Regions from separate parts of the Homo sapiens genome. Here region 1 is linked to region 2. Evidence: promoter capture Hi-C in human tissues and cell types (Jung and others, 2019). All regions are on one chromosome and are shown on one strand. The core of a region is centred on a gene start or on the middle of the fragment in contact, and the rest is flanking DNA. Distances in the headings are between cores, read along the strand shown. Region 1 holds the start of PTPN21 (protein tyrosine phosphatase non-receptor type 21). Region 2 holds the start of SPATA7 (spermatogenesis associated 7).

Region 1 (3,560 bases), core at 1,056-3,555, 170 kb after region 2:
CAGAAAATAAGTATTAAAAGATATGGTTTCCACTTCCAGTAGTTTTCAATGCTCTTTGCTGTTTCAGGGGTATAAACTAAATAAGTAAAGCAAGATGGAAAAAAATTAGCAAATGACAACTTTAAATAATAAGCTTTTAACTAGAAAATTGATAAACCAAGAGTAAATATTTAAGGATTATAAATATGCATACTAAACACCCTTTCATGAGATCAGATGGTGGGTTTCAATTTTACATAAAAATTATGGTAACTGGAAACCGGGCGGATTAAGTAGTGTAGATGAACAGACAAGATATTGCATATGTGTAGAGGAAAGATAAATATTTGTATTAGGTGCCATTCAAATATGGTAGTCTTTTCACTACATAGAACTATGCCTTGAAAGCAATAGATACTACACTGTATAACTTAATTATTAACTTAAGCTCTGATTAAGCAAACTCAGTAAAACTTTCAATTGTCCCTCAGACTTGAAATGTATTACTGCATCAGGGATAAAGGAAAAGTCAAAATTATCTCTTATTTTGGTAGATGAAATTGAAAAAGTTGCAGTGTGTGTGTACATGGTGCATCCCCCCAAGATCTATCCATAAGAATGGCTTGCTTTTTGCTTATTTATATAAAACCCACTATGTTAAAACAATGATTTTGTTTAATAATTTACAAATTTATCAATGATTTATACATCTTAATTTTCAGTAATATGCAGTATTTGTTGCCAAATGGTGTAATACAATTATGAATGTCTGAAGATAATAAAACCAAGATGAGTAGAAATTTAAGAGTTCTTTGGGGAGGTCTGTTTCAGGTATAAAATAATATGCAATAATATGAAAGTGATTGGGTCTGGAATTATAATTTACTAAAGTAAACATAATTTATAAATAGCTATTAAAGGAAAACTAGGATATAATTTTTTCTCTACAAAATCTTTCCGTTTTGTGGTAAGTAAACAGATACATACTAGATTCTGCTTCAGTACAAGTTTACAAAAGGCAGTCTGAACTATTTGTGAATTCATTTTAATTTTCCCTCTCTACAACCCTTTCCAAAAGTTCCTCAAATACACTTTACCTCTCAATCTTACAGCGTTTCCCCTTTCCTATTAAGGTCCTTACCACATGTAATTTTGCCAAAGTTGCTTTAAAATAAAATAAGCACTAAAAGGAGAGAGTATGTGACATTTTTAGAGTAATATCTATAGCTATAGCATTAAACCCATGTTTCTCACGGAGAAAACATCTGTGCGTAGATGCTCCAGAATAAAATGCCCTAGAAACGAAACGGACTATATTCAGAGTAAAATTACTGTCGTGTCCCAAACTTAAAAAAATAAATAAACTGTCAGCAACTATTAGGCATACAGCAGTTGTCACTTGGAGCACACGAATGTTCTGAATGTGTTTGTGAGCATACGCTATTAGTATAAGGCTTTCTCAGCAAAAAAGAAAATAGGACGAGCATGCCAAGAGCGGCCAATCTAATCAGGATTTGCAGAAATCACAAGTCGGAATTTGCAGATCCAAGAATTCTTGTTTCCAGAGTAAATACTCTACTCCAAAAACAAACCCAGGCGTTACCAAACAGTCCTTCCCTGCGCCCCTTCTCGCCAAAGTTATCTGGCGAATTTCACGTTTATATATTCTGAGAGGCACAAATATGCCTAACACATTTAAAACCCTGATCCAGAATTAACCCGCAACAATCGGCCAGGGCGTTCGGAATAGAAGTTCAAGACTCCTTTTAGAAATTACTCAAGTATATGAGAGCGAACCTGAAAAACAAGACTTTTCTCTTTGTTACGCTCCCGCTACGGGTCTGGCCGCCGCGCCCCATTCTCCGGGATTCCGGGGCCGCGGGCGCGCTCCGGGGTCCGGGCGAGTGGACACACCCCACCGCTCGGGCCAGCCGCCCGCCCCTCCCGCCGGCCGGGGACCGCGCCCTCACCTGCTCCCGCTCCCGCTCCCGCATCCTCGGGGCCGCGCGCCCCGCTCAGCGACCCGCCTCCCGGGGCCCCGCCGCGCGGCCGCCGCAGCCGCACCCGCACGCCAGCCCGGGCCGCGGCGCGCTCATGGGGCTCGCACGCCTCACTTCCTGTCTCCAAAAACCCGGCTCGCAGACCATTCCCCTGGGCAGAGTCCGGCGGTGGCGACGGCGAGGGGCGAGGCCTGGAGGTGGGACCGGCCGGCGAGGAGCGCCGCACAAAGAAGCCCCGTGGGGGCGGGGGGTGGCAGGAGGACGGACAGACCGTCGGACCGACGCGGGACGCGCGGCCGGAGCAGCGGGGCGGCCGGGCCCAGGCGTCCCTCCCCCTGAGCCGGGCGGGCGGATCCGGGGAGGCGGCGGCGGCCCGTGACCTCAGAGAGTTGGAATGCGGGCAGCCGCGCGGGGGAGGCGCGGACAGCTGCGCCCGGCCGCCGGGGAGGGGGCGCGCCGCTGCTTTTTTTAATCGTATGACCACTTATTTTAAGAGTTTCCAAATAAAGCAAGGCTTTTAATAAAATGAGTGGAGGGGGTATTATTTAGGTTCCAGATAAAGGGTTTTATTCCTGTGTTATTAGGTAGGCTGTAAAATGCTGTTATTGATGGTTATTCGTTTACTCTGGTATATTTCTGAACACTATTGGAATACATTTCTTCTTTTCCTGCTTGCTCCTAAGGTTATGCCCCATATAACTAGACACTTCCAGTACTGGGTGGGAAAGCCCCCCCACCAAAAATGGTTCATATGCCTCAAATAACCTGTCAGTCCCCAAAAGGGAGCTGTCTGCTTATGCAATATAGAGCAGAACTGTTAAGGATGGAGACTTGACAAAGTTGTCAAATCCCAGCTCCAACATTTACTAGCTGGATGACCTTGTGCAAGTTTCTTAACTTCTCTTTACCTGTTTCCTCTCCTATAAAAGAGGGATATTAATATCTTTGCACAGCAGGGGTGGGGGAAATAAATACTAAGCAATATCCAATAACTTGTGTAAAGTATATATGAAGTGTTTCGTTTAAGGTTTATTATACAGTATTCTTGTACTGCATTATTACTGTATTGCAGCACTTAAGCTGAGGAATAAAACTGTGTGACCCTACCACTATTACAATAGTGTAAGATCTTTTCTTGGCATGTGGAACACAGAACCTTTTAATTTATGTAAATTTTAATTTCAGTGATTTTGTTTTAATGCTGTTGTTTCTGGAAAGCTTTTTAAAGTATTGTTTCATGTAAATCTCATTTTCTTAAACAATTAACAAAAACTTTTGAATACTTAACTCTGCATGAGACGTGGTCCCTGCACAACACGGACTTTTGGTTTAGTGGGTGATAAACGCACCTGCACACCACACACGCAGTACAAGGCCAAAGTGGGGAGCATTGTCATAGAGGTATGAGTGCTATCCAAGAGCAAAGCCCAGCAAGGTGCATCTTGGGTCGTTTAGCTAAAGGCAAATAAGATTACCTGTGTTTCTAAGGGAAAAAAAATAGATCAATTCTGTTTGTAATTGATATTTCAACTGAACTCTATGAGGGGGTCAATTTGTGTGTGAGCAAAGAAAAGAGATCTA
Region 2 (3,471 bases), core at 934-3,433:
AGAGAGGTAGACTGTTGATGAAAAGAGTCAAACTCTGTAAAATATTTTTAGAGATTTATTCTGAGCCAAATATGAGTGACCCTCAGGAGGTCCTGAGAACATGTGCCCAAAGTGGTTGAGGTGCAGCTTGGTTTTATACATTTTAGGGAGGCATGAGACATCAATCAAATAAGAAATACATTGGTTTGGTTCAGAAAGGTGGGACAACTCAATGAGTATGTAAATTTAAACATTTCCTGGTTGACAATTGGTTGAGTTTATCTGAAGGCCTGGGATCAATAAAAAGGAAATGTTGGGGTTAAGATAAAAGATTGTGGAGACCAAGTTTATTGTGCAGAGGAAGCTCTCAGTATAGCAGACCTCAGAGAGAGAGCAGATTGTAAAATTTGTCTTGTCGGACCTAAAAGGGTGCCTGGCTCTTAGTTGGTTATCTCCTGGATTTGGAAAGGAAAGAAGGAAAACAAAGGGGAAAAGAGATTCTCTATAGAATGTGGTTTTTTCCCACAAGAGATTTTGCAGGGCAATTTCAAGATATGGCAAGGAAATATATCTTGGGGTTAAATATTTTGATTTTTTTTTCCTTGTCTCATAATATTATGCCAGAATCAGATTGGAAAGTAAGTCATGGTATATAGAGTCAAATAAAACCCATCTGATAAGAATTTATGGTTTCTAGGGCATGACTCCCTAGACACCTTAGATAGGAATTTGGGCAAGATAAAAAAATTAGAGCTTAGTCCTCAACTCTACAGAAGAAAATGACATTTACCCAGGAATGGGCATTGCAATAGGAATATGCGTGCCATGGCAAACTGTTTGCATATTCAAGGAATTAAAGGAAAAAAAAGTTTTTTTAAAAAATAAAAAAAGGAGAGGATTACATAATTGTTTTGAGGTAATTAGCCTTGGCTCCAAGCATCAATAACAAGGGTGATGTCAGTTCAAGGTTGGACAGACAATTGCTGGACAGATGTCCTCATAGAAGTATCTTTTTGGGTAAGGTGGAGGTCTTTGTGCAAGGTTGTGGTTTTCGCAGTATTTTGTGATAGTTTTATTATCAGGCATTCATGGATGAGAACTCTCCTTCATGGCCTTCTCCAGTTCCACTTGTCAGGTTTTCTAACACATGTGACTCTATTTTTGATTCTGACAACTTTCACAATCTACATTAGAAAAGAGAAAACTGGGGCTCAGAAAGTTTTAGAAACTAATTCAAGATCAAGCTGGTAAGTAGCAAAAAATTTAGAATTAAGTTCTACATATCTGGTTCCAAAACCAGGACTCTTTTCATTACAGCAGTGGTTCTCAACAGAGTTGCGATTTTGCCCCCCAGGGAATATTTCACAATGTCTGGAGACATTTATGACTGTCAGGATTGGAGGTGGAGTGGGTGGGGTCTGCTTCTGAGAAGCTACTTGCTTCTAGTAAACGGAGGACAGGGATGCTACAAAACAGTTCATAGGGACAGCACCCCCACAACAGAGAATTATACAACCAGCCCAAAATGTCAATGGACATTTGGGCTGAGAAGTCTTACATGACAGAATGCTTCCTACCCTGATCTGACGTTATTTCCAAGGATTCAAAGGTAACTGCTTCAAAATTAAACAAATTATAGAAAGCCATCAATAAATCAACCCCTTATTCATGTTGCAGCTCTCTTCCATTATAAATAAAAATGGATTGAAACTTACGATAAAAGGGAGGCAGGGACAGGAGCGGGGAAGCTTGGCGAGCAGAAAGGAAATTCAAACTTATTATTAAGGTTAAGAATTAAGATGTAAATATGTAGATGTTTTTCACCCCTAGGATTTTCACTAATCCAAAAGTTCACGGACTGCTTTGAAATTTAATTATTTGGAACTGGTTAAATGTTACCCTGACCTCAGCTAACATTTGTGTTTCACTTTTCTCCGGGACCCAGGGGACGTGGATGCCAGATGAGTCCACCTCCTCTCCCTGCTCTTCCCGCAGGGACAGAGCCTGCCAGGTGCTGGTGACTCGGATCCTGACAGGAGGTCGCTCTGCGGAAGACTGGCAGGATCCCAGAGCAACAGACTGGGGCTCGATGCCCCTTCCCCGCCAGGTCTCTCCGTCCGCAACTGTCCTCCTAGTACCGGGTATCCCGCAGGCGGGGCTGCGGAACGCACGTCCCCTGCGCCGTGACGTCACAATAGCGACTCACTGGACCCAGCCCTTAGCAACGGCCTGGCAACGGTTTCCCTGCTGCTGCAGCCCCCGTCGGCTCCTCTTTTCCAGTCCTCCACTGCCGGGGCTGGGCCCGGCCGCGGGAAGGACCGAAGGGGATACAGCGTGTCCCTGCGGCGGCTGCAAGAGGACTAAGCATGGATGGCAGCCGGAGAGGTAAAGGGCAGCTGTCAGGGGCTACCGCCGCCTCGCCCCTCGCTCCAGGCGGCGCTCCCAGCCTCGGGTCCGGGCAGCTGAGTGCAAGGCCGCCCCTTGGGGCGCTTCCTACCCCTGGCTGAGTCGCCAGTGTTGCCTGGAGCTGCCCAGGCCTGCGCAAAGGAAGAGGGAGAGCCTGCTTGCCAGCCTCGCAGGTCCGCTTCTTTGCCCTGAATTTGTCGCCCTGACACCAGGGGCCCCTGTCTCCTGAACTCAGGGTCGTGCAGCCTTTAAAACCTCAGTAGCTCCCAGGCAGAGGAACCAGGTTTGGTCTTTGGAGTCAGACCTCCCCGGGCCCCAAATCAAACCCCTCTGCTCTCCATGGAGACGACCCTCAGTTTTCTTATCTCTTGAACGTGAGGGTCAAATACCCAGGCCATGGAGTTCTTGAGGATTAAATGCAGATAATATAGAGAAGATCCTGGCGCATTTGAAGTGGTCAGTAAATACGAAATCTCCCAGTAACGAACTACCTCCCCCAAAGCTACTGAGTAACCCAGGGTTTCTGTAACTTTCTGTGAATAGGAATCCCCTCAGGGTCATGTTAAAATGCAGATTATGATTCAGTAGGTCCCTTGGGGGTGGCTGAGATTTTGCATTTATAATAAATTCCAAGTAATGCGGTGTTGCTGGTCAGCGGACTGCAGTTTTAGCAGCAATCCGTACTCACCATATACACCTGTTCTCTACTGATTTCTTGAGTCAGGTGGACATCATGTGGTGGGGTTGGGGGTGGGGAAATACAATCTTAAATATCTACAAATCGGCCCAAACCAAATAATTTGCATTTTCACACTTTCTGAGCCAGTATCATTCTTTCCTCGAGTCAAATGAGGCAATCTTTATAGACTCCCCGCCCCTCCCAATTCAGTGTTTTTATCTATTTAAAAGACTGCCTTTAAACCAAGCTGCTAGATGATTCCTTGATGTCTTTCTTTGAATGAGTCTGCCTTTATTATATAGTCATTGATCAAAATAAGTGCTACTCCGAATGTAGGAGATAACTATTCATTGATCAGCAAACTATTCTGACACTTCACCAACCTAGGTTTCAGAAAAAGCAAATCA

Evidence for each region. The method cuts DNA at HindIII sites, captures the fragments that hold promoters and counts their contacts. A contact is called where the count stands out against the background at its distance.
Region 1: the fragment with the promoter of PTPN21 here is called in contact with the fragment with the promoter of SPATA7 in region 2 in 1 of the 25 tissues and cell types used here (hippocampus).

Annotation. Positions count from the first base shown.
Region 1 is chr14:88,552,702-88,556,261 of GRCh38, forward strand. PTPN21 (protein tyrosine phosphatase non-receptor type 21) reads right to left here and starts at 2,306. Exons shown (of 19, transcript NM_007039.4): 1 at 1,950-2,306. It overlaps LOC124903405 (proline-rich protein 2-like), which reads right to left. Exons shown (of 2, transcript XM_047432047.1): 2 at 1,956-2,359. The coding sequence ends at 1,995. RefSeq lists a silencer at 2,264-2,313. The HindIII fragment of the contact is 8,452 bases long and covers 1-3,560 here.
Region 2 is chr14:88,383,474-88,386,944 of GRCh38, forward strand. SPATA7 (spermatogenesis associated 7) reads left to right here and starts at 2,184. Exons shown (of 12, transcript NM_018418.5): 1 at 2,184-2,364. The coding sequence starts at 2,346. RefSeq lists enhancers at 1,867-1,946, 1,977-2,046, 2,057-2,376. The HindIII fragment of the contact is 14,884 bases long and covers 1-3,471 here.